6 separate regions of the Homo sapiens genome follow, and regions 2, 3, 4, 5 and 6 are each linked to region 1. The links are contacts of gene promoters, found by promoter capture Hi-C in human tissues and cell types (Jung and others, 2019). All regions are on one chromosome and are shown on one strand. Each heading gives the region's core, a stretch centred on a gene start or on the middle of the fragment in contact. The rest is flanking DNA. Distances are from core to core; before and after follow the strand shown. Region 1 holds the start of NUAK1 (NUAK family kinase 1). Region 2 has its middle 190 kb from the start of CASC18. Region 3 has its middle 210 kb from the start of CASC18. Region 4 has its middle 4.9 kb from the start of TCP11L2. Region 5 has its middle 160 kb from the start of NUAK1. Region 6 has its middle 140 kb from the start of NUAK1.

Region 1 (5,186 bases), core at 1,392-3,891:
TGCTAGGCATTGTACTGGGTGTTTTTCATCCTTCCCATTTAAGGAGACGGAGCATGGCATATATGAAAGGAGAAGGGGGAGCTTTGGAACTGGACAGGTAGGGTTTAAATCCTGGTCCTGCCATTTACAAACTGTGTAACCTCTGGGAAATTACTTAACCTTTCTGATACGGTTTCTTCAATTGAAAATAGGGATTGTAAACAGCTACTTTACAGAGGAGGGTTTACTGTCATAAAACAGTACCAGCCTATGGTAGATGATGCTGTTGATTCAATAGATACTGATGAAGTCCCACATATCTGGGAGTAACACTATCAGCCAGAATAAGCCAGGTTATGCTGCTTTAACAAATCCCACTGACTTAACATAAATAAAGTTTAATATTTGCTGACACTACTTTTCCAATGCAGATTGGCTGGGATTTTCTGCCATCTTTACACAGAGACTCAGGCTGGCTTGGGGAGGCTCCAACTTTGTACCACCATGATTGTCAAGATAGGAAAAAGAAGACATGGGGATTTGCTCACTGGCTCCTAAAGGTTCCAAGTGAAAGCAACACAATCACTTCTGCTCTCATTCCATTGGCCTAAGCAAGTCCGATGGTCTCATCTAACTTCAAGAGGATGGGGTAGTGGATTTCTACCACATCGCAGGGGAGGGGAAGAAGTAGAAAATATTTTAAAATACTACTGTAGACACAATGTGTTTATCTCTACAATAGATCTGCTAAATCCATATCTTAAGAGAAAACCGAAGCTCTGAGAGGTTATGTCATTTGACCAAGGCCACACAGCCAATCCTCTGGGAAGCCAGGACTCAACCTGCATGCCACTCATCCTGACTGTGGGATCTATAGGCACAACGTCCACAAACTGTATAGAAGCAGAACAGTTTCAGGATGGGGGTGGGTGGCAGGGAGGCCCTGCAAATGCGGTGGACAGAATAGGAATTGAATAGGCATGATGCGCCTTTGTGTCTGTGTTCTGTCATTGCTCCTGGGGAAGGGAAGAAGGGGCAGGGAAGTTTGTGTGAAATATCAGTAGAAGGAAAGTTTGGACAGGTAAGAATATCACGCGTCAGAGTACAGCAGAGACACGTGTGGAGGATGAGGGCAGTGTTTCAGGCCATTACTCTGGCAGCAGTGAGGAGGCTCCCGGGGAGGGTTGGGGAGAGCGGGCTGTTGCTGGAGTCCGGGGTAAGGTGACCAGGGGTAGACAGGAATGAAGGCGGCGGGAATGTAGAGGAAGGGCTGCACCTGAGAGCTGCAGAGGAGGCCCCAGTGAGGTCCACTGGTGGAAAAGAACCGCCATGCGATCTGCAGAACACCAGACCTTCTTCAGCCTTCACTCTTCCCACCCTAGTCTGGTACATTGCACCACTTGTTAAAAAAAAAAATTTCCCTAAGACCTCTTTTTCTCTAGCCTTCTTCCTTATTTTTCATGGTCTCTTCTTAGAACGGCGGCAGCCACGCCGCGGTGGGAGGCCCTTCCTGCCTGACCCTTACCGTGCGGGGTACCGTTCCTGTCACCATCGCCAGGATCTGGCCCTTTCAGTGAAAGGAAATCTCCCAAGGCCTAAGGAGGCAAGAGGCCTGCAAATCGCCTCCTGCTCAGCAAACGGGTTGCTCAGCAGGCCCGGGGTCCTGGTCCACCCCAGGTCCCTGGTTTGCCCACCTCCGATGGCGGCCTTCGCTGGCAGGGTGGGCGCCTCTGGGGAGCCAGCTCCGTCCCGGCGCCTTTAGAGCCCCATCTCTTCCACGTCCCTGGCCTTCCTCCCCTTCCAGGCGGCTGTCCCCGCCGGGGTCCAGATGGTGTCGGAGGGCCGGCGGTTCGACGGCGGGCCCGGGGTTCAGCCTCCCGGCCTCCCTCCGTCCCTGACTCTCCTTTCTTCGGAGAGGGCGCGGGGGCCGGGGCCAAAGCGCCGCTCTTGGGGTTCTCCTGGACTCGGAGTTGCCCCAGGCGGGCGCAGCTCTGCCCCGCGGGGTGCCAGCCTCGGGCGGGCAAGGTCCGTGAGTCACCGCCTGTAACCGAACACCAGGCCTCCCTGCCCCCTCCCCCAGCTCCGGCCGCCAGGCTGCGGCGACACCTACAAGAAAATGAAGGGGCGCCCAGGCCCGCGGCGGCCCCGGCCGTATCGCGAGCAGGTCCCGGCGGCCCCCGGCTCGCGGCGCTCTTTCTTCCCCGGCCCCGGGGCTCGGCCAGCCGCAACCGCCGCCCCGGCGCCAGCAGGAATCCAGGCCGAGCGACCGGCCCCGGAGCCCGAGGCGGCGGAGGGCCCGCGGTAGCTGCGACTGGCGAGCCCGAGAGCGCCCGGGGAGGGGGCGCCCGGCTTGGAATTTCCCGGTCCCTTCCGGCCCAGCGAGGACAAAGCACTCCTGGCCGCCGCCGCCGCCGCCGCCGTGGCCTACGCCGCGCCGCACAAAGGGCGAGTCGCGACACGCTCCCATCCCCCTCCCAGCTCACGGCGGCCCCGGCCCCGGGTGGCTGCAGGGAGGTGGGGGAAGCCCTGGCTGCACCGCCCCTCGCTCCCCCTCCCCTGGGGCCGCGCGAGCGCCGCCCCCGCCCCGTCTGCGCGTCCTCCCGGGGAGGGGTTGGGGGGCGCGGCGCCCCACATAACACTCCCCCTCCTGCGCTGCGAGCCACCCTCTCCCCTCCCTCCTGCAAACACCACCGCCTCCCCTGCCACCGCCGCCACCTCGCCCGACGCTCCACAGCTCGCCGCGGCCGGGGGGCGGTGCGCGGACCGTGCGCGCCGCGGGCGCCAGATGTGCAGTCCCCGCCGCCGCCAGTGACCGAGCCGCAGTCCGAGCGGTATCGGGCCGCCTCCCTGATGCTGCGGGGGCGACCTTGAGCGTACAGCGGCTTCCCTCGGTGGGGACCCCGACATCCCAGCGCTGTGCCCGGTCTTGCCCTCTGTAGCCCGGCTCGCCCCGCGCTTGGACATGGAAGGGGCCGCCGCGCCTGTGGCGGGGGACCGCCCCGACTTGGGGCTGGGGGCGCCGGGCTCTCCCCGAGAGGCGGTGGCGGGGGCGACTGCAGCCCTGGAGCCCAGGAAGCCGCACGGGGTGAAGCGGCATCACCACAAGCACAACTTGAAGCACCGCTACGAGCTGCAGGAGACCCTGGGCAAAGGCACCTACGGCAAAGTCAAGCGGGCCACCGAGAGGTTTTCTGGCCGAGTGGTGAGTGGGGCAATCCTGGAGGGTGCGGGGGGCGCTGGGTGGACGCGGCCGGGGACTGAGGGCGTGCGAGGCGGGGGTCTGTGCGCCCTGGGGCTCTCTTGACAGAGAGGGGGCTCATTGGGAAGCCCCGAGACAGACTCCTCACTCTTTCTCCAGCACCCCGTGACTCAGGCGTGTCTCTGTCCTGAAACACTTGTTACATCCTGTCTGCACATATTTTATTTTATTTTTTGGTTTGTTTTTAAAAATTTAATCCTAGCAGCAAAGGAATGTTTTAGATTTGCAAACACTTTGCAGCGTTGGGACGGCCGGGGTCTCTCTCCCTCGCAGGCACTCATTTAGACCATGCCCCGAAACGTCTTATTTCCACAACTCTCCAAAGAACCACATTCCCAGCTAGGAGCTAGCCCCTCAAGTCCGGTGTTTTGTAGGTGTCCCTACCCCCTTCCACCCATCTGCCCGCAGCTCCTTGCTCTGCATCCTCCCACTCAGACTCTGCATCGCCCTGATACTGCTGTGACTGCAAGGGAGGGCGACTCTTGCCTGTTTTTGAGACAAGGTTAGGGAGCAAAAATAAAGACTACTGCAAGCCTGAGGATTCTAACAGTTTGCATCATGGCTTTGGGAGGACCGAAATGTCCAGGGCATGGGTAGCTACAGAGATAGCTGTGCTTAGTTGCAGCAGGCTCAGTTGTGTTTCAGCTCCTGGTTGCAGGGCTACCAAACCGCTGAAGGGGTCTGGCCCCGCTGCTCTTGTGACAGCTGACACCCTGCCAGGGTCCTGGCACCATTTGCACAGCTCCAAGGAGTGCTTTGAGTGCCTTGGGGTCTGTCTGCCTTGTCCCAGCCTTGGTTTGTTGTTATTTTCACTTCTGCAGAACAGGCCCTTGAAATCCACACTGCTTGTGGCTAGAGAGTTGGGTTCAAAGTGACTGACTGTTGCAGAAAGATTTTGTGTGGTGTGTGGCAGAAAATTAACATGGTTCTTTGATTTGAAGCAGATCAGATGTATTCTAATCGATTTAGGGCCAAAGTCAGAAACTGATTATGGGACTCCTTGTGTGCACTTTTGGGGGTGTTTTGGAGGCTCAGGTTTGCTTATAAACAACAAATGACTGCAGGGAAAAAGGAAAATGAGCTGTCAAATAAAATAGCAGCTTAGTATTGACATGTTTCTTTTGCATTTCGGCAGGAACAGTTCTGTGAAAAAAACATGGGGGTGCCAGTCAGCAAAGTTCAGTCCCCAAATTCTCAAATATCTGGATACCCGGATAACGCCCTCCCAACCCATTTCTCAGATTTGATGTTTGGGTCTATATAACTTCGTCCCATAACGTTATTTTAAAAAAAAATCTGTTATCAATTAATTGGAAATTTGAGATGGCGTACATTTCTTTTTAAAGCTGGCTCTGTAATAAATTCTACAGCAAGCAAGTAGTTGAGAATTCACTCTGGGCAGGTGCCATTTTCGTAGGATGAAATTGTTAAAGGGGAGGGTTGTAAGGGTGGCCTCTGATGAAGGCAATTTCAGGTTTGTGGAAGAAGAGGCTGGGAAACGTGCACTTCATTCATGCTTTTCTTCTGAGGTGATATTCCCCAGGCTGGATGTTGAATAAGCAAAAACTAAGCTTAGATCCCTGCTCATGTTGTCTTAATAGCTGCTGAAGAATCGCACTGGGAAGGTGGGAAGCAGAATAATGAAAAACAGACGCAGTTCGAGCTGCAGGTTGAGAATGTGAGGCTATGAGGGGTTGTTGAAGTGGTAAGGGTGTGTCTAGGGTCTGTGAAGGGACCCCAAAGTCTAAATGCTGGGGCACTACCTCAGACCTTTCTAACGAACGAACCCTTGTCTTATGGCAGACGCCTTTCTGAGCGTCAGTGGGACTTCCTGTCAGGCGTTCTTGAGCTGTCTGATCCACAGACTAGGTTAGAGTGAAAGGGATTTGCATCAGTAGGCAGGAGTCCGCCTTTCTCTTTTGGGGGATGTCTTTCTCTGTATTTGCAG
Region 2 (5,186 bases), core at 1,667-4,166, 240 kb after region 1:
AATGACACCACTATTGTAGATTGGCCTTTGAGATATCTTTCCAGGTTTTTTGCATGTCTGACACTCATGGCTCCACCTGGACTGACAATCAGGCTCCTGTGGCCCCACCCAGAAGTGAATCAGACTGCAGGAGGACCGCTTCAACCCCCTATGATTTCATCTCTGCCCCAACCAATCAGCAAGCACTTGTTACTTGGCCACCCCCACCCCTTTCCCCAAACTGCCCTTGAAAAACCCCTAACCTGTGAGCTTTGAAGGAGATGATTTGTGTAGGAACTCCATCTCCCATGTGGCATGGCCAGCCTCTTGTCTATTAAGCTATTTCTCTGCTACGATGCCATGAAGTTTATGCAGTGGGTAGGAAGAGCCCCTCGGGCGGTCACAAGGTGAGGGTGCTGTGCTGCTAAGAGATGCAGAAGTGCATGAAGTAATCGTTGAGCTGGTGCTGTCTTAGGACAGGTCTCCAAAAGCAGGCCTTGAGATGAAAATCTGTGCACAGTAATTTATTAAGGGTGTGCTCTCAGGAGAAACAGTAGAGGAGAAAGGAAAGGACATCAGGGAAGGGGAAGAAGTTGAACAAGTCTGCAATTTCAGGCAAAGTTCCAGGCTCAACCTGGTCCTACAGGGAACTCTGGAGTGTGAATTATATCTCAAGAGTTTGTTCACCTCGAGGCAAGGGAGCTGAGCTTCCCTGCCCCTACACCAGTCAGCCATTGGCAATCGGCTGCTCTGGGAAAATTTAAACTACTGGAACTTCTAGTTCTCCGCATACGTGAGTAAATTGGCCCAGTGGCCCAAGAGTATTTCCCTAAAGAAGATCGTAGATAAAAGCAGTTAGAAGTAAAGCACACAGATGCTGGGTGATAGATGTACACAGCCAATACAATACAGATCTGAACAGGTCTGGGTGTGGTACTACCAGTGTTTGCTCCAGGTGTTCAGGGCCAAATTGAGTTGCTCCTTAATAAATCTAATTAATAGCCTTATAGGCAGTTGTGGAGCTGTTGAGAACAAAAGAATTGCATGTACCAGGGCTGATATGGAAGGCAGGATTGAGATGTAAATCATGGCTTTGGAGGTGGTGAGACTTGGCTCTTGAGTTCCTTAAGCTATTCCTCCTTTGCTGCAACTTCAGGCTCTCATAGCTATGCACTTGTGGACTTCTGGCTCTTTCTTATGAATCTAGGACAACTGCCTGCCTGGGCCCCAGGCATGGGCACACCATGCTGGCTGAAAGGCCCTGGGCCCACAAAAGTAGACGGTCAGTTCGATGTTAGGAAACAATTTCCACTGGCCCTGTGAGAATGATGAGAATAACAATAACAACTAAAATTTATTGGAACACTTCCTACATATCAGGTAGCATGCTACGGGCTCAATTTGTATGAACTCTTTCCTTCATCATGAGTCTGCAAGGCAGTTCTTATTACCCTCATCCTGTTATAGATTAGAAGTCAAACCTGGGAGAGGCAGCTTACCTTTCCCCAGGTTATATTGCTTGCGAATGACGGAGTCAGACTCAAATTTAGATCTGATTCCAAAGTTCTTTGTCTTAATCCTTAAGAGTTCAACACCTTCCAGTTGTCACTAAGCATTTATGGAGACCTTCTTAATATTCTCATGGTGCTTACAGGGGCTGTGATCCAGTAGGGGGAAGGGGACAAACAAACTCCAATTACTTGAGAGCCAACATGTTTGTATAATAAATGAGGGCTCAGGCATGTATCAGCAGACCCGTATAACGGTGTTGGATGCCTAGAAGCTCTTTTAGTTTTTGCCTGGTACGGTTTGGCTTTGTGTTCCCACCCAAATCTCATCTTGTAGCTCCCATAATTCCCACATGTTGTGGGAGGGGCCTGGTGGGAGATGATTGCATCATGGGGGTGGGTCATTCCCGTGCTGTTCTTGTGGTAATGAATGGGTCTCACGAGATCTGATGGTTTTTAAAATGGAATTTTCTCTGCACAAGCTCTCTCTTTGCCCGCTGGCATCCACGTAAGATGTGACTTGCTCCTCCTTGCCTTCCCCCATGATTGTGAGGCCTCCCCAGCCATGTGGAACTGGAAGTCCAATAAACCTCTTTCTTTTGTAAATTGCCCAGTCTTGGGTATGTCTTTATCAGCAGTGTGAAAACGGACTAATACAGTATCTTATCAGCAACGTGCAGCAGCAAAATCTAAACAAGCCAAATGCCTCAGCAGTCATGTGATGGGGGGTGGGCAATGGGGGCGAGAGAGGGCAGGGAGTAGATGAGGACTGGGCTCAGCCACTTGGGCTGGAAGGGAATTTGGGAACTAGCTCCTTTTTCTCTTCTTGTACTGGCTTCTGTGGGTAGGGTTCGGGGGTGGGTAGAGAACAAAGAGCATCTGGCCTGGGGTAGAAGGAACGCTGGGGTTGTTGAACGGGTAGTGTAGCCTCCCAGGGTCCCTGACTTGGCTCCTTGCCTTGCAGCCAGTTCCCTACCTCGGCTTTAGTTGACATGGCTGTAGACTAAACTGAGAGAGTGCCTGGACTGGTCTAGAAGTCACTGAGATGTCATGGGAAGAGCACTGGGTTTAAAATCTGGTGCCTTGGGGTGGCATGCTGACTTGTCACTTGCCAGCTGAGTGTCCTTGGGCAAGTCACTTAACTTTTCTGGTCCTCAGTGTTCCCATCTGTAATCATAATAAGGTGGCTAACATTTATGCAGTACTTACTAAGGCTCAGGCAATTGGTCCAAGAGCTTCCCATACTATATTTAACTCAATCCTCGTAACAACCTTATAAAGTATGTACTATTGGCTGGGTGCAGTGGCTCACGCCTGTAACCCCAGCACTTTGGGAGGCCAAGGTGGGCGGATCACTTGAGGTCAGGAGTTGGAGACCAGCCTGGCTGCCGTAGTGAAACCCATCTCTACTAAAAATACAAAATTAGCCACGCATGGTGGCATGCACCTGTAGTCTCAGCTACTCGGGAGGCTCAGGTGGGAGAATCGCTTTAACCCTGGAGACAGAGGTTGCAGTGAGCCAAGATGGCACCACTGCACTCCAGCCTGGGTGACAGAGTGAGACTCCATCTCAAAAAAACAAATACAGAAAAAAAAGTAGGTACTATTAATATCTCCATTTTATAGGTGAAGATATTGAGGCCCAGGGAGGTTAGATAGATGGGGACCACTTGTTCTGAGTTGCCTGAGATTGTCCCCACTTACACCTGTCATCCCTGCCTCTCATCTGGCTTAACATTTTTCTATCACCTTTCATGATCAAAAATGCCCTGGTTTGGTTATTACATTATGTGTAGTAATTATAGTGTATGCTATATTTAGGTTAAATATTTTGTCAAAATTCCAGAAATGTTAAGTGGTAGAATAGATCTTTAAGCCTGAGAAGTCAGATTCCAGGGACCATGTTCTTAATCATCAAACTGTGTAATATCCAGACACACCTGCTTCAAAAGGATTGTCTCCTTTCCTGCCTTTCTTGCTTCCTTGCTTCCATCCTGCCTGCCTTGCTACCTCCCTTTTTCCTTCCCTCTCTCCCTCCACTCTTTTTCTTATTTCCTTCCTCCTTCCCTCCTTCTCTCCCTCCCTGTCTTTTTGCCCCCCCCCCTTTTTCCTCCCTCCCTTTCTTCCACATTTCTTAGGTGCTGACTACAGTGCCAGGCATTAGGGATATAGGATGACCTGTGCCCTTAGCAAGTTCATAGACTGGTGGGAAGGCAGACACACAAATCAGTATTTGCAATATAATATGAAGGTGCAATAGAACAGACAAAACAGGCAGACACTACAGGAGCATAAGACAGGGAACCCTAATTGTGGGTGAAGTGGTTTTAGGAAAGTTGAAGAACAGAGTGACTTTTAAGCTGCATCTTAAGGATGTGTGTTGTCTAGAAGCTTGCCAAGAATGTTAAGGGAGAGGTGAGGGCAGAGACTAGGGTCGAAAATAAAAATAAAATATGAACATTTTGGGTAACTTTTAGGAATTAAATTCATAATAATAGTAGCCAGATTCATGAGAAATCACTCATACTTTCTAGGTAAGAATAGCTTACATAATTAGTAGCGCTATAGGCCAAGCCAGGGACATTCCAAGTGGATGGAACTGTTTGCTCCTTTATAGAGGTAGTGTATCAAGGAAGGATGCCTTCAGCTACAAGCAACAGAACACATAACTAAAAATGGTTTCAAAGTAAGGCATTGTTTTTCTTATATAGTACAAAGTGTGAGGGTAGGCAAATGGTTGTACTATTCAATTTTCCACCAAGGACCAAGATTCTCTCCATCTTTCTGCTCTGTCAACCTTAAATAGGTTGGCTCTTTGTTCTTGTGTTTGTTATCTAATGATCCCAATGTGGCCTTTGGAGAAGACAAGCCTGCACTTCAGCTTGGTTCAGCTACTTATCTCTGGAACTTTGGACAAGTCACTTACCCTCTCAGTTTCCTCATCATTAAAATAAATGAGAAACAGCCTGACAGGGCTGCTGGGGAGAAGACTGAGTTCCTGTATATAGAGCACAAACTAGGCAAGCCAAAAAAAAAAAAAAAGATTTGTTTTCCTCTTTCATCTATATTTTTGTTGTTGTTGTTTTGCATATGTGCTTTGCTTTAAGGGGAGGGCAGGGACTAGGATAAAAAAAGAAAAAAAATGCACATTTTGGGTTACTTTTAGGAATTAAATTTATAATCATAGTAGCCAGATTCATAAGAAACCACCCCTACTTTCTAGGTAAGTATAGCTTATATAATTAGTAGCACTATAGGCCAAGCTGTCCACAAGTGCTGACCCATCGCAAAGCCTGCCATGTGGTCAAAGCTCAGAAACTAGGGCAGGCAGAAAACACCACAGATGGGCAAGGGGAGTCTGGGCTTCTCTGGGCTTTTACCTTGTATAATTGACAAAGGCAGCTTCAGCACTCTGGAGATTGATATCCAAGATTTTTTTCCAAAGCCAGAATTTGAGATAAGCCACAATTAATATTTGAGAGATTAACTGTTCCATTAGGGAAGGGTGGCCATTAATTAAGCCTCAAAGGCAGTTGGAATGAATTATGTTCCAGCAAGAAGGATGGATGCGTCCTGCTCTTAAAGGAGATGGGAATCGGATTCCAATGAGCTCTCTGTAGCTTTATTGGATGGGTCCTATGTGCCTCGATTTAGAAGAGATTTATTTTTTAAAAATAGCTTTTTGGCCAGGCACGGCGG
Region 3 (5,186 bases), core at 1,593-4,092, 220 kb after region 1:
ATATACCAACCTGTATATTTACACAACCTATAAATATTTCTACGTGTAACACAATCTGTGTCTATGTTAAGCTAAACCTGAGTTAATACTGATGTCTTCAGCTGTAATCCATTGCCACATTCTAGGCTACTCCCCTTGCTTATCTGAGTTCTCCGATTCCAATAGTGAGAAACCTGGCTCCTGACATCTGCCATCCATTTGCTTAACTGTTAAGTTCTAGTGTAATGGATAATGGTTTCAAAATTACTAACCTATAACCCCATAGAAAACTACTTTATTAACTAGAGTACAGTGTCCATGTAGAGTTCATTTTGCCTTTAGCCTTATGGACTCCACTCATTTTCAGACTTACTTTGGCCAGATCTAATTCTTCTCATTCCCCTTCAATGAGGTTGTTTCATACATTTGTAATATATTTAGATTCCTTTGTCACATTTTGCATTCCATTCCAACTTCCTAAATAATTGAAACAAAATTATATGTTAAGGTTTACTTTGTGTGCTATAAAGTTCTATGGATTTTGACAAATGCATAGTGCCATGTTTCTACCATTAGAGCATCATATAAGGTAGATTCACCACCCTAAAGAACTCTGTGCTTCACTTAGTCAACTTTCTCCACTCCTGAGCCTCTGGCAACCACTTACTGATTTACTGTTTCTATGGTTTTGCCTTTTACAGAATGTCAGATAAGAGAATCTTATGGTATGTAGCCATTTCAGACTAACTACTTTCATGTAGAAATATGTGGCTCAGATTTATTAATGTCTTTGTGTGACTTGATAACTCATTCCTTTTTATTGTTCAACATTATTCCATTATATGGATGTACCATAGTTTGTTTATCCATTCACCTATTGGAGTATATCTTAGTTGCTTCCAGTTTTTGGTGATTATAATTAATGTCCCTGTATACACTCATATACATATCTTTGTGTGGATGTAAGTTTTCATATCTGTTGGGTAAATACCTAAACGTATACCTGGTGGATCTTATGGTAAGATTGTGTTTAACATTGTGCAATCACTTCAATAAATGGTGTTGGGAAAACTGGATATCTATATGCAGAAGAATGAACTTAGACCCTTATCTCATACCATATATAAAATCTACTCAAAATAAGACGAGATACTTAAATGCACGACCTGAAACTGTAAAACTACTATAATCAAACATAGGTTAAAAGCTTCTTGATATTGGTTTTGGCAAAGATATTTTAGCTATGACTCCAAAAGCATAGACAACAAAAGCAAAAATAGAAAAATAGGATGATACCTAACTAAAAAGCTTATGCGCAACAAACAATCAACAGAGTGAAGACAACCTACAGAATGGGAGAAAATATTTGCAAATCATACATGTTGAAATCCAAAATATATAAGAACTCAAACAACTTAGTAGCAAGAAAACAAATAACCTGATTAAAAAATGGGCAAAGGATCTGAAAAGACACTTCTCAAAAGAGGACATACAAATGGATAACAGGTATATAAAAATGTTCATTATCATTAATCATCAGGGAAATGTAAATTAGAACTTACACTTGTTAGGATGACTATTATCAAAAAGGCAAGAATCAACAAGTGTTGATGAGGAATACGGAGAAAAGCGAACTCTTGTACGCTCTTGGTGGGAATGTAAATTAGTGTAGCCATTACGACAAACACTATGGAAGTTCCTCAAAAACACTGTGGAAGTTCCTCAAAAAATTAAAAATAGAACCACCATTTAATCCATCAATTCCACTTCTGGGTATATATTCAAAGAAATGAAATCAATATGTTGAAGAGATATCCGCACTCCCACGTCCATTGCAGCATTCCTTATAATAGCCAAGGTATTGAGTCAACCTAAGTGTCTATCAACAGATGAATGGATAAAGCAAATGTGGTATCTATGCACAATGGAATATTATTGAGCCTAAAAAACAAGGAAATTGTCTCATGGATGAACCTAGAGCATGTTAAATAAAATAAGCCAGGCACAGAAATAGAAATACTGTATTGTCTTACTTATATGTGGAATCAAAAAAAGGCAAACTCAGAGAGTAGAATGGTGGTTACCAAGGTCTTGAAGGTGAAGGGATTAGGGAGATGTTGATCAAAGGAAACAAAGTTTCAGTTAGACAGGAGGAATAAATTCAGGAGACCTATTCTACAACACAGTGATTATAGTTAATGACAATGTATTGTATATTTGAAAATATGAAAAGAGTAGGTTTAAAATAGTCTCACCACAAAAAATAATAAGTACGTGAGATAATGGATATGTTAATTAGCTTGATTTAGTCATTCTACAGTATATACATATATGAAAACATTATGCTGTATGCTATGAATATACGCAATTTTATTTTTCAATTAAAAAAATTCAATCTAAAATAAAAAAAAATTATTTTTCAATTTAAGAAAAACTTCCAAACTATCTTTCAATATACTATTGTGAATTCCCACCAACAGAATGTGAATTCCTGTTGCTCTCTATTGTCACCAGCATTTAGTATTGTCAATTTTTTGTTTTTTGGATTTAAGTCATTCTAATGGGTGTGTAGTGGTATCTCATTGTTCTTTTGTGCACACATATTTTTATTTTTGTAAAAGACGTGTTGTATGTCTCACTTTGTTTCTTTTCCTCATTAGACACTGTGTTTTAGGATAAATTACATTGCTGTATGTATACTGAGTCCATTGCTTCTTACTGCTGCATAATATTTCAACTCCTAAGTGTAGGTAGTGGTGGGAGAATTAAATCTTCAACATCAGCATCATTCCTCTAAATTATGTGAAAAAATAATAATCTAAGGAAAACCAAGGTAATATTTATGCAAATGTGGCTTCAAAACAAGTTTCCCAAGCTCCTATTCTAATTAGATGATGATAGTGGTGATATATCTGGGTGTGTGTGAATGAATGTCTTGATCAGATGTGAGATATATTTGCCTTATTTACTACCACTCCCTTCTCCCATGACATGGGCCAGTCAATGATAGCATTTACAAAAGTACATTGGGATGATTCTGAATTCAGAGTTCCAAGTGGCCACTACCAATTAGTGAAGCTGACTTGGAGAAATAAACCTATCTTTGGACTAGATAAAGTTATTTTCAGCTCCAAAGATTCTATATTCTATAGGTAGCCCAATCTGGTGGAAAGTTGGGTTCATGTAGGGGATTGGTAGTAGACAAGATAGGAAAATGTAAGAGGGAGGAATATTATATATTAAACAGCTGCCAGTTATAGAGTGTCTACACATTATGTGGTTCCAGGCACCCTACATACATTCTCACAGGAGGCACACAAATTCCTATTGGATTGTGGCTTAGTCTCATTTTCAGATGAGATAGCAAAGGCCCATGGAGACCAAGTCACTTTCCCAAGAAGACTCAGCTGGAAATGGCATCCTGAGATTAGAACTGAGGTCTGTCTGACTCCAAAGTTGATAATATTCTCACTACATCATGGGTCCTCTCACATGTGTCTTCAGTAACAACCAAAATGCCAAGAGAGGTATAAAGAGGAATGTTAAGTGACAAATGAGTTAGGTTGGGCGCCTAATTAAGAGTCTATTGCAGAAGTCTGAGCATGAGATGAAAAGTCTGCATTCGGGTAACAGTGGGACTGGAGAGTGAGCAACTGGCATTGCCAAGTGTGAGTCAGGGTGTCCTACAATCAAGGTTTGGAAGCGTATTGAAAGAGATGTCTTCAAGGAAACACAGTAGAGATTGTTTCTGAAGAGTCTGGACAACACAAGCCCGAGGCAGCAAACATAGGCTATTGAAAAATAGATGTCTTTCCTTTGGAACTAATGCTAATGTTGGATTTATTTCCCTTATAATTTGCCTATTGACTGAAGAGAAATTACCTACTACGACGGCTGGAGCCTTTCTGTTGATGCAACGGTAGAAGCATGTCGGTAGTTGGATGGAAGGAACAAAGCTTATTGTGTGCTGTTGAATTGTATTGTGCCCAGCTTTGAATCACTGAAGCACATAACTCTGACAATAATGTATTGCACTTGAAGCATTTGTTTATTGCTCTTTATCTTCTGGAATGCTAAACAAATCATAGGGACTTATTTGCAGTGTTGAAAGTAACTTGAAATAAGTTTTTTACCTCGTGGTCTTGGCCCAGGCTGTTTAAATTGGACCAATTTCATTATTGACTTTCTTCCCTTCTTTATACATTGTTCCATGAGTTTCCCCAAAGTCATTTTTCTTGATGTCCTGCCTTTGTAAGCTGTGTTGGAGTGGAGGAAGGGTGAATGAGCTGCTGACATATTAAGTGCTGACTGCTCCTGGGCTGTTTGAGTTTGTGGTTTGGCTGGTCCATTAGCAAATTTGTTCTTTCATTACTAGATCAATATTTTCCTCATTTTCCCCCCAGGTTGTAGGCATCAGAATTAGTCTTTGGGCCACTGGATATGTCCAATGATTATATGAAGTTGTACTAAGGAATCATTCATACATTCATATGTGCATTCACTCCAGAAAGCCTTTGGACAACAAACTATGTAGCATTGCTATGCTATCAAATACCATTCCCATGAGGATTTTCCAAATGAGTTTGGGACACCTGTCTTACAGGGTCACAACACACCTGAGCCTATTGTAGGATTTGAGTAATCTCACAGTAAAGAAATACCTTTATATTTCTTTAAAGCATTCCCCAAACTTTGACCATGTGTATTAGTCAGCTTTTTGCTACAGTAACAAATAACCCTCCAAAATCTTAGTTTAGAACACTAAATATATATATTTTTTCTTATTCGTAGGTCTGTTTGTCAGGGGTGGATTGTGCAAGGTTCTCCTTGGCTCAGCTGTAGTCTGCTGTGTTCTGGGGGGTCTTCTCATTCTGAGTCCAGGCTGAAGGAAAAGTCCGTAACTGGAATATGCTGTGCTCATGTCAGATGCTAGGAATATGAGAGAGCTTGAGCTAAACCTCACACTCCCATTTAAAGCTTTTGCTCAGATGTTGCAAATGACACATTTGTTCAGATCCATTGGCCAAAGCATGTCACCTGGCCAAGCCCAGAGTTAACGAGGTGAGGATAAATACTCCTCCCAAATGATACATGGCCGAGTCACATGAATATGAGTAAGAAGGTTTAATACTCTTACTGGAGGGAATGCATAGTTGGGAACAGAACTTTTTTTCCAAGAGTTTTAGGTCAGATTTCCTAGAAGCAGA
Region 4 (5,186 bases), core at 1,565-4,064, 160 kb before region 1:
GGAGGTTGCAGTGAGCCGAGATCACGCCACTTTACTCCGGCCTGGGCGACAGAGCGAGACTCCATCTCAAAACAAAACAAAACAAAAACAACACTTTGAAAAAATGGAGTGCTGTAAAATATAAGGCAGTTCCCTCAAAAATGAGCCTTGTATCACATTGTTGCTCAGAGGGCTCAGACAGTCATAACACAAAATCTTCCCTGCTCAGGTTATGTTTATGGCTTTCTGAGGAAAAAAAAAAAACAACAAAATCTGAAAAGGCAACCTCTTTAGAAGTAAAATAATTAGCATTTTATTTGAAGAAGACATATTATTACACCTAGTTTTTCTAACTTACCTTTTTGAACCACTTAGAGAACTCACAGTAATACAGTTTTTTTTTCTCCCTGTAAATTACACGGTAGACTAAATGTGGTCTATCACTCTTGGCAAAAGACTAAGGGCAGATCAAAATTTTTGTTCGATGAAGAAATAGAAATACTCATTTTCTTTTTACACATCTGAAATCTGAGTTTTAAATTATAATAAATCATTGACAAAAATCTAAAAATGTAATTACAGTTGGATTTGCAACCTCTCAGCCTTATAACTTTTCTAGTGGAGTTGCATATTGTACTGATTTAATGTAATGCAAATTTAGCTATACGGGACTCATCTAGGACAGAATATGAGGAACACAAGAGAATAATTTAAATACTTCCAGTGATCTTGTCCCCTATTTCTCTCTATGGGAGTTGTGAGGCTTCTCTTACTGTGTTTATCTGAGTTTCTGAGCTTCTCATTATGTTCCAAGCTTCTTTCCCACGGCTGGCTTCATGTTCGTGCAGTCTGGGCAGTTGCACAAGGCCCCACCCTTGGAAGAGCCCTGTGCTTGGTTTAATACATTGCTGCTGTTGTGTTGAGATTCTTAATACTGTGCTTTTTGAAAGGGGGCCTTGCATTTTCATTTTGCACTGGACCTGGCAAATTATGTAACTGGTCCTGATCTCCCCACACAGAATATGAGTCTAGTGGTTAAAGGTGCTTATCTTCCTGCCCCTAAGTGCCAATCAATTATTTCAACCAGTGCTCACTTGAAGAAACTTATGTCTGTTTCAATGCTGGAAGAAAAGAAATAGCCCCAAACAAACAAAAAACGACAAAAACTTGGTGTATCCCAGGTCTTATGGCTCATTAAAAAATTTTCAAGAGTAATTTTCACTGCACTTTGACCTCATGGTCTTCCTTAAGAGCCTAACCCCTCCTGTAAGATGTGACTCCATTGTAATTGAAAAAAACAAAAACAAAAAGCAAAAAAATGGGCTGGGCATGGTGGCTCAGGCCTGTAATCTCAGCACTTTGGGAGGCTGAGGTGGGTGGATCACCTGAAGTCATGAGTTCGAGACCAGCCTGACCAACATAGTGAAACCCTGTCTCTACTAAATACAAAAAATTAGCCAGGCATGGTGTGCATACCTCTAATCCCAAATACTTGGGAGGCTGAGGCAGGAGAATCACTTGAACCCAGGAGGCAGAGGTTGCAGTGAGCCAGGATTGCACCATTGCACTCCGGCCTGGGCAACAAGAGTGAAACCTGGTCTCACAAAAAAAAATGGCCGGGCATGGTGGTTCACACCTATAATCCCAGCAGTTTGGGAGGCCGAGGCAGGTGGATAACTTGAGGTCAGGAGTTTGAGACCAGCCTGACCAACATGGCAAAACCTCATCTCTACTAAAAATACAAAAAATTAGTTGGGCGTGGTGGCACACACCTGTAATCCCAGCTACTTGGGAGGCTGAGGCAGGAGAATTGCTTGAACCTGGGGGGCGGAGGTTGCAGTGAGCTGAGATTTCACCACTGCACTCCAGCCTGGGCAACAGAGCGAGACTTTGTCTCAAAAAAAATTTTAAACTAAAAATTAAATTAAAAAAAATGTTTTTCAAAGGAATCCCACTTCTTTTCTCTCCCCTGTCCATCTTCAGGTGCTACAGAAAGGGCCAAAAATCAGTGAGGGGGAAAATACAATAGAAAGCAAAAAGAAGAAAATGAATTTGGCTAATACACCAACTAGAGAATTAGGCCCTGAATGTTCAAAAATTAACTGCATACCTCCTACTCAATTTTACTGTGAGCTCTAAAAATAAGGTCTATTAAAAAAAATTAACCACACCTTTTAGGCAATTTTTTTTTGTTCTATATCCTGTGATTTGGAAGATAAGGTAGATTTAGATAATTGACCAGTTTTGACTATTAATTGATGCTTGAACAATTTTCCAAAGCACCAAAACCAGTTTTCTTTTGACTCCACTGAACTGAATTAGTAAAAAAATTAACAGTTATTTCTCATTTCAATTGCCTGTACCTTCACATTTAGGCACTGCCCAGTCCCTGACCCTGTCACATACTAAAAAGACAAATATTCTTAGTGCTCCCTACACCCCACCCTGGGCCCCTTCCTCTTACCTGGGCACCACTGTTGTCCCCTGGGAAGCAGAAAGAGTGAGAACCAGCAGTGAAGACAACTTTGGGGCAGGAAGTGGGAGGGGCCAAAGAGAGTTGAAGCTCAAAGGAACACCTATGGGAGGCCAAACAGGTGATGGCTCAGACCTCTGACCAAGCCAGTCACTCTCTTTAGCTCATCTCCAGGCCAGCAGGCAATCAACCATTTTCTAAATGATTGCTTTTCTAAAGTGTTCATGGATGAACACAGGCCCTCAGTTTTAAAATCAAATGAAATTGTCAAATGGGCATGAGGAAGAGCTACTAAAATAAGATGCAATCTCCAGAAAACATAAAGGAAGGATTAAGAAATGTGACTTTTTAGGTACACGATTCAACATGAAAACATGAGTTACAGAACACTGATTATGGGGTGACACGATTTATGCTAGAGAGAGCTTACACTAGAGACAGTACATATGCATTGTGTGTATATGAAATACATAGAAATGGACTAAAAAGAATCTCAACCGTTTAGAAGGCTATTTAGGCAAGTTAGTTCCTGGTTTATTCCGTACACATTCAAGCAGCTTATTTCTTTTACAATGAGAATGTCATTCATATATTACTAGTCTATTTCACACTGCCATACAATGCAACTATTCTTATTATTGTATGTCCTCCTAAATATACCTTAGTGAAGATAGGCTATTGATACTGCACAATAAGCAAATTTCCCATCTCTTTTTTATTCATATTTAAGAAAGCCATGACAACAAATGGAGCTTTTCATGTAAAATATATGAAAGAATAGATTTACAAAAAGTCCCTCACTATGATATGTCAAAATTATTAATGCTGGGTGGGGGAATATTGATCTTTACTTTTTAAGTTCTTCTCCTCAAGCCCTATTCTTCGATAGCCAAAGTGCATGGAGTTTGCTTTCATTTTAAACATGTTTTTTGCCCCAAACTCTGACCTCTAAAACCTTCCCTTTCTTTGATGATAAACTGGACAAATGTCCTTTCTCAAAGTTATATGGGACTTTAATAATTATACTACCTTTTTTTTGTTGTTTCTTTTTTTTGAGACAGAGTCTCACTCTGTCAGCCAGATTGGAGTTCAGTGGCATGATCTCGGCTCACTGCAACCTCTGCCTCCCGAGCTCAGGCGATTCTTTTGCCTTAGCCTCCTGAGTAGCTGGAATCACAGATGTGTGCCATCACGCCTGGCTAATATTTTGTATTTTTAGTAGAGATGGGGTTTCACCATGTTGGCTAGGCTGGTCTCGAACTCCTGACCTCAAGTGATCCACCCCTTGGCCTCCCAAAGTGCTGGGATTACAGGCATCAGCCACCACACCCAGCCGTACATTTTGAAGACAAAAAAATTGAGAGCTCTGAACATTCAAATGCCTGAATAGTAGCTTTTACCTGAGTTCCTGGGCATTCTAGAGGAAGGTCATATACTAGGGCACTAAGGGTTTATGTTGACTAAAGGGATACTCAGCAGTGACTCACTCAGTTGGCAGGTCAAGAATAGAAACCAGAAGAACTCACTTCATGGCTTCTCTCCGCAAATACACACATATACACGTGCAGTGTCACATGCAAAGTATTACCTATTGGCATAATTATCTAATTTCCATAACAACATATCAACAAGCATACCAGCTCTGTACCAACTAAGTGCCCAAAGTATTTATAATCACATTCCATTACTCTAGAAGGGTGCCTGGACCAGATACTGGGGTGGCTGTGCCTTCTAGAAAGCAAGAATGGAATGCAGCTTTATACAAAAATATGAAGCTGTTTACATAGATATATATTCACCCGCACACATGCACACACGAAACATTTCTGGCCAATTCCCTCAGAGGGATCCCAAGCCATGCCATTGTTTATGTTACATGTACATCTGCATGTATATTATCAGTAAATTCCCACAAAGCTCAGTATAGGCTGGGCGCAGTGGCTCATTCCTGTAATCCCAGCATTTTGGGAGGCCGAGGTGGGCGGATCAACTGAGGTCAGGAGTTCAAGACCAGCCTGGTCAGCATGGTGAAACCCCGTCTCTATTAAAAATACAAAAAATTAGCTGGGCGTGGTGGCGCACTCCTGTAGTCCCAGCTATTTGGGAGGCTGAGGCAGGAGAATCACTTGAACCCAGGAGGCAGAGGCTGCAGTGAGCCAAGATCACGCCACTACACTTTTGCCTGGGTGGCAGAGTGAAACTCAGTCTAAAAAAAAAAAAATGCTCGGTGTAACATAATTATACAAATAAATTTAATTTTAATGCTGAAGCTGAATTCTTTATTTAAAGGAAGACCTCTGTGATGATATGTGGACGTTTAAAAAAATGACTTTTTAAAAGTTACAAGCATTACGTAGATCAAAATTTTCAAAGAATTAATCAACTGAGGTACAAAATAATTGTATATAATGAGGAAATGTGGTATGGTGGAAAGAGGGTGGGCTTTGGGTTCAGACAGACCAGAGGGTTGACAGCCAAGTTCCACCACTCATTATACATATGTCCTTATCCTCACAGGTATAAAATGGGGATAATAATGTTGTGGGGGCCATTTGTCATTTTGGTGATCCAGCTTTCCGAATGGTATTTGAATTGTTATCATTTATTATAGAAGCCAGAGAGGGGATGATATGCTAATCCCATTAATACTTTACTACTGGAGCTGGAAAGGCATTCTGTCTTCCCAGACCCTGGTGGCTGTAGCATGGGCATGGGACCTACGCATGTTCTGTCA
Region 5 (5,186 bases), core at 689-3,188, 160 kb after region 1:
TCCCTGTTTGAGCCCTGACCATCAAAGTAACTTCGAGCAACTTGCATTCTGCAATGGTTGAAGAATGTAGTGTGTGGACGTCTGAGAGGAGGATAAGTGGGGCATCAAATCAAGCCCAGATGTCAGTCTCCCCAACTCCAGCTGTTGGTTGGGACAGAACTCAGAGGAAGAGCCCTCAGTGGGGGTTCCTAGGAGCTGAACAACCCTACTGCTGGCTACCCGCTGGGCGTGGCTGCACTTGTGTCAGCCCCAGTGTAAGAGCATCTGCAGAGGCAGCTGAAGCCCAGCAAGGTCTTTTGTCCCCCACTCCCTCAAAGTCATCCTAGGACACAGGTGTGCATCCCTCACAGCTGACCGACTGAAGATGAATCAGCTTCCCTGAAAGACGTGCCCCACAGGAGTGTGTCAGCTGAAACTCATCTGAAGGAGCCTGATTCCCTCCCTGACCACAGCTAATGAAAATGTTTGGCTCGCCTGGAGAAGAATCTGTGTTATTCTTTAAAGGAACAATGCTAACCACAGATGTACAGCATCTGGCATGTGGCAGATGTTTCCCTGAGTGAGAGGAACAGCAACTGGACCAGCCAGTTCATGAGATACCTTTGGGTCTAGGCATGTATTTTCCTGATTTCAGCTCTGGATTTTGCTTCTCAAAAGTTCAGGGGAAGTCCAAATGCCTCTTCCTATCACATGATATTTTCATAATATGCTCCCTGGCCTCTTATCTTCTATGATTCTCAATGTATATGCTTGAGAAAAAGACCCATACCCTTGTCCCTAGGTCCTTGCTCTTGCTGTTCTCCATGTTTGTTCCGCCATTTCTCTTTTTTATGAGTCAATTTGTTAGGGCTCTTTCCACCGCAAATGAAAGAAACCCAATTTGGACTGGCTTTAAGCAAAAAGCAAAACCGCAAAAAGCAATCCCCAAGCTACAGTTATTGAGTAAAATGTAACTTAAAAATCCAGGACCATTTGACATCAAAGTCAGGTATTGCTGGATTCAGGGATTCCAGTGATTTTTCTAGGACCTGGTTTTGTCCATTTCTCCATGTCTAGACTATGTTTTCTTCCTTATTGGCTTCAGTTTCAGGCAGGCACTGGATGATCTGTCCCTGGCTGCTTCAGGCTACCAGGTTAGCAACTTTATAGAAAGAGATTGCTTCTTTTGCAATAGTCCTGGGGATGGGACTGATTAGGCCATCTTGGGACACAAACATGTTCATCCATGAGCTAATCACAGTAGTCAAGGGGATGAGATTCCCATGATTTTCCATGCCTGGGTTCCCTGCTCATTCTTAGGGCCATGCAATGGGGTCTTTCCCCAAAGGGTATCAGGATCCTATTATGAGAATGAGGGTGAATGGATGTGGCACAAGAAGAATCAACAGATATAATTCATAGTCTGCTTCTCAAGGTCAAGTTCATCTTAGGCCTTTCTGTAACTCTGACCTTCCCATGGAGGTTTTCCTGGTGACCTCAGTCCATGTCCCCTTCTCTGTTCACTGTAGCACTTCATTGATGAATGTAGGATTGTACATACCTCCTCTGCCTTGCTGGTTGTGTCTGGAGGGACTTCCTGGGCAGTAGAGGACATGGAGTGGGATGTGGTTAGAATATGAAAGGCAAAAGTCACCTTGTATTTCCTTTCTTCATTTGAAACACAGTGAAATAAAATGGAAACAAGAAAGCTTTGAATTGGGAAAAAAAATTCAACAGTTAACAGGCAGTTTAGGGTAGGGAAGAAATGGGTCTTGGTAGCAAGGACTGGTGGGTGATACCGCATGTGTATGACTGCTTCTCCACCTCAGGCTCCCCAGTAGCTGCCTCCGCCTTCAGGTAGAATGCCAAGGTTTGCATACTTTGGGGCCAGCTGGGTGCTTATTTCGTCTGTGCAAATCATTGAGCGTTTGGTGGCCAGTGCTTTCTGCCTTATATTTCTCTCACACAACACTGTGTGGCTGGCACTTTGCTGAGTGCCTAATAATTACTCAACAAGTTTTTGTTGAGGGAAATCGTGTTGTGCCTGCCAGCACTCAAGCCGGCAGTCAAGAGGTCTGGGTTGTAATCAAGCCTCTTGACCTTGACCAGGCTAAGTAGCTGTGCAGAAAAGCACTGAGCAGGATACCAGCTATTTTTATCTAGTGTTTCTAGATCACAATAGTTACATTCCGGTTCACTTGCAGTGACCCTGTGACATAACCCAAATGCTGCAGGGTAAGGCTGTCGAGGTCAAATCTAAAGCAAAAATTGGGTATAATCGAAATGTCCCTGGAACCTCCTATAAATCATCCATAAAGTAGAGTTTAAAAAGTTTTCGGATTACAGCCAAATGCAGTAATACTTGTAAATTATGTGGGATGGATATAGTAACACATTGCATATTATTTAGTGAGAGCATATATTCTACAGTGCAATATTGAAGTATACCTTTATGGGTTCAGTACAAGATTCTCACAAACAGGAAGTTAGAGAAGAGCAACTCCGCATATCTGGCTTTGGTATTACTCTGGGGCACAGATGCCTGGAGTGGATTATCAAGCAACATCTTCAGTACTAATTAAATCATTATTTTAAATTGTTATTTTTCTTTCTCTCTCTTTGCTTTTTACTGAATGCAAATGAATGGATTTATGTAAATTAACTGTGCAATGAATTTTCCCTAGTCTTATTCAATTAAAAATGTTGATTATAGATTCAGAAGGTGCCAGGCACTGGGCTGGGTGTGGGGACTTCAGCAATGAATAGAATGGGCGTGGTTTCTGGCCTAACGGAACTTAATAGTCTTTTCAAATTGTTTTACAAATGAAGAAACTGAAGTTCGATAGAGGTAACTGCCAAATATTACACAGCCATTGAAGAGCAGGGCTGGAATTTGAATCCAGATCTTCTGACTTTAACTCTGAACTTTTCCCAGCTACTCTCTGCTGGCTTCCATGGTAAGTCAAGTCACTTCCAAAGTCAAGGCCAGAGGCCTGGAGTTCATTACTAAAGAAAAAGGCCGCTGGGACTGGCCATTTGCCTTGGCACTGGGATTTGGAATTGAGTTCATATTTGCTGTTGAATCGTTCCCTTCAGTAATGGGATAGCTTGGAATGGAATGGTAACGAGAGCCCTGTTTGCTCCAGAGGGCCCACTCCCTGTCCTGCCCACCAGCCATAGTGGTTGACCACCCTCTTTAAGCCCTCTATTGATTACAAAGAGTCAATTTCTTTCTGATGCAAATGGCTGAGCTCAGGGCAGTTAGAGCTGAGCCATGGCCCCTCAAATTACTGCCTTCCGGACTAAATATGTCAGGCAGCCTTCCCGAGGGTCCTTGTCATGGACAAAGAGACTGGTTCCGGGCTTGCATCTCCCTGCTTTGGTATCTGATGTGTGTACATTCCTTCCTCATGTGTACCCGCAAGTGGCCCAAGAACCAGGGTGCCCCCCTCTCCAAAGAGCCCCAGCTCTCTGTGAGCCTCTCAGGCCCCATCCTTGGAGGAGGAGGCTGCCAGCAAGACCCATCCAGAGCTTGCGGTTTGCCCTGGCCCTCAATGTGCTGACCCAGCCCACCACAGGGTGGTGGCGCCAGGCCTGGGCTCCTCCTCAACTGGGCAGAGCCATCTGGATGAGTTAAAGAATCATCTTCATCTTGAAAACAGTGGCAACTCCTGTCCTGTGACCCTGAGCCAGGGCAGATTTTGCATCGTCTGCTCTGTTTCATTAAGGACAAGTTTTCAGGGAGCAGATGCTTGAGTTAGAATTGATTCCTTTCTATTGCTCCTGTCAGAAAGACAGAAATAAAACATTTAATCTAAGGAAAGTTGGCTTCTCACACAGACTTGTGGATTTGCCCTTTGGAGAAATGTCACTAATGGCATTTTAATCATGCTTTATGTGCCTGGAGACCAGTAATGAGAAGAACTTCTTATTTACCAAAGCAACTGCTAGCCCCTTAATGATGGGCTAAGTATCAGCTACTGGCAGGATATGTAGTGGGGAAGTGCTGTGTAATTACCAGGCAAATTCATCATTATTTCTGTCTTATAAACCAGAATATGTGTTAAATAATACTTTAGGGCCACTGAAGGTAATTATGGAGCCCCATCTCTGTAAGAACATGTAATTATCTTACGGTTGCCCTGTGTTTACTGAGCAAATCTATGCAATTATTATCTAAAGCCCAAATCCTGCCCTCAGAGCCACAAAAGTGCACCCAAGGGCAGGTCTGCCGCATGTGCACCGGGTCACAAAGGACTGGGGCCTCCACTTCCCAAATTTCAGCTTTGCCTTCATCCCTGGACTCAAAAAGCCACAAGTGAGGCTTTGTGAAATGGGTTGTTTCTGTTTTTGCATCTCCCTGCCCCAATCCATCTCAGCCCCTGCACTGGCCTCCCAGTTTTGCGTGCTTAATAGATCCATGGGTCCCCACCACTTGGCATGCTGAGACCTCAGCATCTGGTGACAGTGGGTTCAGCTCAACAGTTCAAGCCTTTTTTAAGGCTCACCTTGTGTCAGGAATGGGGCTGGGCTCTGAAGACAAGGAACTGAACAGGACATGGCCCCTGCTTTAGAGCGCCCAGGTGGGAGGGGTGGACAGGTGTAAGGCATGGTAGGTTTGGCATGGCAGAGACTGCATAGGGTCAAAGTCAAGAGCATGGCCTCTAGAGCCAGATTGCCTGGGCTTCAGATTCACTTATGCAAAATGGGGTTATCAAAGGGCTTTCATCATAGACCATTTTGTGTTACGTTCAGCCAGTGCTTAGAATGGTCAGTGCTTAGAACTCAGCTGATGCAAGTGGCTGAGCCCAGGGCAGTTAGAGCCATGGGCCCTTAAATTACTGCCTTCAGGACTAAATATGTCAGGCAGCTTTCCTGAGGGCCCTTGTCAAAGACAAGGGGCTGATGATTCTGGGCTTGCATCTCCCTAGTTCAGTATCTGATGAGTGTGGCACAGCCAGGTTATGTGGTACACAGTTTGCTATTATTATAATGTGGTAAACATGGGTAGAAAGCCCATCCAAACTGTTCAGCCCTCAAAGGCCACCATGAGATAAAACCTTCCCTGCTCCTGCCCAAGAGAAGCCTTCTCTTTCTGCTCCGAGCTGACGGAGCACCTCATCCCAGAAGTCTCTTAGGCTGTTAGCCTTTTCTAGCAGGCACTGTGTTAACTGATGTTGATCTCTGACCTCCCTTATGGAGCTGTT
Region 6 (5,186 bases), core at 915-3,414, 140 kb after region 1:
ATGGAGATAATGTCACATGCCTCATATGTTTGCTGTGTAAATTAAATGAGATGCATGCAAGTACTTTTTTACATGCAAGTAATTTTTTAAGAAGAGTCAATCAGATCATGCCACACGTCTCCTAAATCCCTAGGAGCTCCTGTTTCCTGCTGAGAAAAAGTCAAAAGCCTTACAAGGGCCTCTAAGGCCTCGTGGTATGGCCTCTCCTCACCCTGTGTCGCCATCTCCTCCCTTGCTCACTCCAACCACCCTGGACACACCCTCCACCCCTGGGGCTTTGCATGGGCTGTTCCCTCTGCCTGACACACCATTTCCCCAGATACCCACAAGCTTGCTTCCTCACCTTCAAATCTTTCCTCAAATGCCACCATCTCAGTCCAGCCTGCCCTAAATACCCTAATGCAAGTTACAAACTGCAACTTCACAACCCAGCACTTCTCATCCCCTACCTGCTCTATTTCTGTGACCCCCCACTCCTTTTCTTTTCACAGCACAGATGACCTTTTAATTTGCTAAATAACTTCCTTATTCATCTTGCTTGTTTGTTGTCTATTTCTCCCTGCTAAGCTCCATGGGGCAGAGCTCTGTATGTGCTTTGTTTCACTCTCATATCCCAAGTACCTAGGACAGTGCCTGGCACATAGTAGGTGCTGAATCCATGCCTGAAGAAGCAACAGTTTTCTTTTTCTTTGCACCTTTGTCTTCATCTCAGTTCATCTGCTTCTTCTGTTCTCTTGTGATGATAAGGATGCCAAGCAGATACATGTCTTTTAAACACTTTGTGTGCCTTGTAGAGAATTATTATCAGTGCTGTTTTACTTTTAGTCTTCAAAAGATTGCTCTGTCCTTTAAGCTGCAGAATCTTTTCATAAATGTATAGTTTTTCTTTCTGTTTGCTGACCCTTCCGTGAAGAGCTTTAGGTCTATCCTAGCCTCAAGTTTGCCAGTAGAGAGGGCTGGAGAAATTAGCATCTTTAGTGCCACTTAGTGTCCACCAGGATAACAGGAGGCCCCTCCTCTGGGATGTAAGCCCAAAGCTCAGGTGTGCCCTTCAAGTGTAGGTATGCCTGAGCAACGTGGTCTTCTGCTCCTACTGATGTGTTCTCTGAATTAGGGCATTTTTAATGTAATCTTTGAAAACCAAAGGCCCTGAGAAATTCCTCCCACCTCCTTCACCCTTCTTCCTGCTTGCACTCCTTTCAGAACTGTTTTCTTTGCAACACACCCAAATATCTAGAGATAGTGCCATGTTAATGCTGGGAATAGTATTTCTAGAATGATCTGCAGATGGAGGAGCTGATGGGGTGAAGAGAGGATCAGGGATCTAGCTATCTCAAAAGGCAGTTTCTGTGTAGTTTGGAGAGACAGTGTGAATGAGTCAGTGAGTTGGCTTTGAGGGTTCTGGTGCTCTGGTTCAAGGTGGAGCATGAGAGACAAGACTCCAGAATGTGCTTTCCAGTGGACCCCCTCCCACAAAGAAGTCAGCAGAACTTCTTCTAATTTAATCTTTGCTTTTCTTTTGTTTGCTCTGTTGAAGATGTTTTTCTCCTCTGATGCATCTCCATTTAAATGGGATTTAAATCGGAGGTTTGGAGGAGGCATATATGGGAAGTTGCAATTGCTGTTGTAGTAACTCTTACCTTACTCCACTATTCCATGAGTCATCCTTACTTAATTCCCTTTGCATTCCAATAACCCATTTGATTGACATACTGGATATTTTACAATCTCCTGTCTTTTCCTTGTCACAGACCCTGCTATCTCCGTTGAACTATGGCGCAATTCCCCTCAATCACTTTTTCTTGGCTACTGATTCTTCAAGGCTTAACTCAAGTGCCATTTCCCTTCTGGAAGCCTTTCTGATCTTACTAGTCAGTGTGTAATCATTATTTTTCAACAAGTATCTATTGAGTGCCTACTATGTGCCAAGTTCTGTGATAGGTGCTGGAGATGAAATGGAGAGAGAAACACACCTATTTCCCACTCATGGTTGAGTGCTGGGGGTAGAAATGAATAACATCATCATAATTAAGTGGGGGCTGAGGATAGGGTGGGCTTCTTCCCCCGACCCAGTGTTTCTTTCATGTGGGAGGAGCTCTGCCACTGTAAGGCTACTGGACATTCTCTACCTCTTCCCTCATTCCTTCCAGGTGAAAAGAAGTAAATTTTTCACTAGTAAACTTGGGAAAAGGAACTGGGAATCAGTGTCACAAACCCTTCTTCCCCTTTTCTCTGTTATATAATCCACTTTGCAGGAAACACACATTCTGCTTAGCTTCTCCAAAAATTGAATTTTACACAGCTAGTTCCCAGTGTGGAGCCAGTGACAACCCAACACTGTTTGCAACTAACCAAGTGGGTAAGTTGGTCTGATTCTGGGATTTCTTATGAAGAAGTTTACTTGGCCATAGACCTTTCTCTAATGTTAGCTCCTTTTAAAATTTTCTCTCTCAATTGATTCAGAAGCAGGGAAAAAGGGTGGCATGAGTTGGGCTTTCTCAAACCTCAATGGTAGTATGGAAAGTAAAAATTTAAACGGACCTCCACTCCCTTCACTATGTCTTGTGGTGCCTTTCTCAAATCTCTTTTAATGATATTTATTAGACTGCTGTAATAATATTCATATATGTCTACTCCTCTAGAGGGTTAGTCTCTGCCTCTGACTGTGCAATTTGTGCACTGGACAGTGTTCCTGGCCTACAGGGCAAGTGGGAGCTAATATCTGACCAGTGCTGTGTTTCTTAGTAGTTGTGTCTTTGCCTGGCATTGTGTCAGTTTAGTGGGCAAGGCATCTTTTTGTAATTTGCACAAAAGTTTCTTATGTGCCAGCAAAGCCCTATATCCTTGTATTGATGAATAAATAAGTGTTTGTTCCTTAGATGGGCAGCACTATTGCCTTATTTAACTGTAATCATACAGAAGGGAGGAATCACAACCATTTAACTCATTTTTCATCATCTCTTATTAAGTACAATAAGCCAATACACCAGGCACAACCCAGGCAGAATTGTGGAGGGAGTATATCTGCTTTCCCACGCCATTTCCTTAGCATCCTTTATTATTGTTGTTATTGTTACTATCATTATTATTTGCAGTTAAGAGCAATAGAAAAAAAACAATGGACTGAATTCAAGAAACCTAAAATCTGAACCTTAGTTTTACTATATCTAAATGGAAGTCCTGTAGATCTCAATGGATTGTGGTAAAGATAAAGTAACATAATATATGCAAAAAAGTATTGCACACCATACATTTATGCAGATGTTAGGGGCTATTACTATCATTCCTTGATTGCTTAAATTATATGCAGGAGCATTTACCAGCTCAGTTAGTGTGTAAGCCTCACACTGACAATGTTGATTCTAATGGGAACAGTGTAACACACTTATTTCTGGAAAATACCTAGAGTCATCTCTCTGAATTATTCATTTTCCGACTGTGTGTGTGGTTGTTTTCAGATTTTGTGATATAATTTGGAGGTTCTAAACCTACATGCCAAAAGGCATTCTCCTTAGCATCTGGACTTCTTTCTCTGCATATGTTTCCTTCTCCTTCTGTTGCTTAGGGGTTGTTTACAGGGATGATTTCAAACAGATTCCACTTGATGAAGCCATTCTTCTCATTAATGGGATTACACCCCAGTTCACAGTTTTTTCTAACCAAGGGTATGCTAGCAGAGCAGCATTCTTACAGTGTCTGTTAATTTGAAGGTCCTTATGGGAGTGTTATCTGATGATTTTGTAGAAAAGGGCAGAAAGCCAGGGCTATCCTGGATAGATATACTAGAAGGTAGAGGTTGACAGCATCAACATTAATTCTTTGTATTTTCCCAATAATCTTCCTTACCGTAGGTCCCAAGAAATATGTAGTGCAGAACATGGAGAGTAGAAGAGGTATTTATTCCACCTGCAAAGGCAAAGGCAAAGTCAAAACAGGAATCGCAGACAGTCTAATGGCTAACGACATGAATACCAGGAGGGAGTTGGAGATATCCAACCATTGGAATTAGTAGGCTTGGGTTCAAATCCCAGCTCTACCACTTACTTTGCATTAGCCTAGTTTTCTTGTCTGCAAAATGTGGCTAAGAGTACTCACTCCACAGCACTTGCAGAAAGGAATACATTTTGCAAGTAGATTAGATTAAATAAGGAATAAGAATAGGAATAAGAATTAAATAAGTAAGATTAAATAAGAAATACATTCTTAGAAAAATGCCTAGCAAACTCATCACCCATGATATGGTCACTGTGTTTATAATTATTATATCAGTAATAATGTATTAACCAATAGTTTTGGGATACTATAAAAATAGATAATGCAGTCATGGTGGTTAAGAACTTGGGAAGCTAGTTGAACTGAGTTCAAAACCCAGCTCTGCTATTTACAAGCTGTGTGAACTTGGACAAGTAGCTCAACCTCCCTAGGCCTTGGTTTCTTCCTCCATAAAATAGGAATAAAATCAGTATCTACTTCACATGCTTATAAGAGACCTAAATTTTATGAGAAAGCAAAGTATCTTTGGTTGGCCTTTTTTTTTCCCTTCTGTGCTTTGAATATATCATTCCACTCTCTCCTGGTCTGCAAGGTTTCTGCTGAGAGATCCACTGATAGCTGTACTGGGGCTCCCTTAAATGTGATATGTTCTTATCTCTTGCTGCTTTCAGTATTCTTTCTTTATCTTTGATTTTTGATAATTTGGTTATCTTGTTTTTTGGTGAACTCCTCTTTGGGTTGAATTTGATTGGGGATCCCTGAGCTTCCTGTACCTGGATATTGTCATTTCCCTCAGATTTGGGGAACTGTCAGCCATTATTTTCTTTCCTTTGTTAAAATTTTTATTATTTTATTTTATTTTTCCATTAGTTATTGAGGTACAGGTGGTATTTGGTTACATGAGTAAGTTCTTTAGTGGCGATTTGTGAGATTTTGGTGCACCCATCACTTGAGAAGTATACACTGCACCATATTTGTAGTCTTTTATCCCTCGCCCCCTCCCACTCTTCCCCCCAAGTCCCCAAAGTCCATTGTATCATTCTTATGCCTTTGCATCCTCATAGCTTCCCTCCCACATACCAGTGAGAACATACGATGTTTGGTTTTCCATTACTGAGTTACTTCACTTAGAATAATAGTCTCCAATCTCATCCAGGTCACTGCAAATGCTTTCTGGGCCTTTTCCTCTCTCT

Evidence for each region. The method cuts DNA at HindIII sites, captures the fragments that hold promoters and counts their contacts. A contact is called where the count stands out against the background at its distance.
Region 2: a contact is called between a fragment that was not itself captured here and the fragment with the promoter of NUAK1 in region 1, in 2 of the 25 tissues and cell types used here (mesendoderm cells and thymus).
Region 3: a fragment that was not itself captured here is called in contact with the fragment with the promoter of NUAK1 in region 1 in 5 of the 25 tissues and cell types used here (H1 embryonic stem cells, IMR-90 fibroblasts, adrenal gland and 2 more).
Region 4: a fragment that was not itself captured here is called in contact with the fragment with the promoter of NUAK1 in region 1 in 2 of the 25 tissues and cell types used here (heart left ventricle and hippocampus).
Region 5: a fragment that was not itself captured here is called in contact with the fragment with the promoter of NUAK1 in region 1 in 4 of the 25 tissues and cell types used here (heart left ventricle, hippocampus, mesenchymal stem cells and 1 more).
Region 6: a fragment that was not itself captured here is called in contact with the fragment with the promoter of NUAK1 in region 1 in 3 of the 25 tissues and cell types used here (hippocampus, mesenchymal stem cells and mesendoderm cells).

The regions. Positions count from the first base shown.
Region 1 is chr12:106,136,409-106,141,594 of GRCh38, reverse strand. It overlaps NUAK1 (NUAK family kinase 1), which reads left to right and starts at 2,641. Exons shown (of 7, transcript NM_014840.3): 1 at 2,641-3,181. The coding sequence starts at 2,942. RefSeq lists enhancers at 700-1,319, 3,711-4,212. The HindIII fragment of the contact is 8,166 bases long and covers 1-5,186 here.
Region 2 is chr12:105,892,332-105,897,517 of GRCh38, reverse strand. No RefSeq gene overlaps it. Among named protein-coding and RNA genes, the nearest start is that of CASC18, 190 kb to the right of the region's middle. RefSeq lists enhancers at 1-198, 199-945, 946-1,692. The HindIII fragment of the contact is 5,401 bases long and covers 216-5,186 here.
Region 3 is chr12:105,912,025-105,917,210 of GRCh38, reverse strand. No RefSeq gene overlaps it. Among named protein-coding and RNA genes, the nearest start is that of CASC18, 210 kb to the right of the region's middle. The HindIII fragment of the contact is 3,209 bases long and covers 1,238-4,446 here.
Region 4 is chr12:106,295,230-106,300,415 of GRCh38, reverse strand. It overlaps a transcript of TCP11L2 not described here. Among named protein-coding and RNA genes, the nearest start is that of TCP11L2, 4.9 kb to the left of the region's middle. The HindIII fragment of the contact is 6,180 bases long and covers 1-5,186 here.
Region 5 is chr12:105,979,071-105,984,256 of GRCh38, reverse strand. No RefSeq gene overlaps it. Among named protein-coding and RNA genes, the nearest start is that of NUAK1, 160 kb to the left of the region's middle. The HindIII fragment of the contact is 6,624 bases long and covers 1-5,186 here.
Region 6 is chr12:105,997,104-106,002,289 of GRCh38, reverse strand. No RefSeq gene overlaps it. Among named protein-coding and RNA genes, the nearest start is that of NUAK1, 140 kb to the left of the region's middle. The HindIII fragment of the contact is 9,600 bases long and covers 1-5,186 here.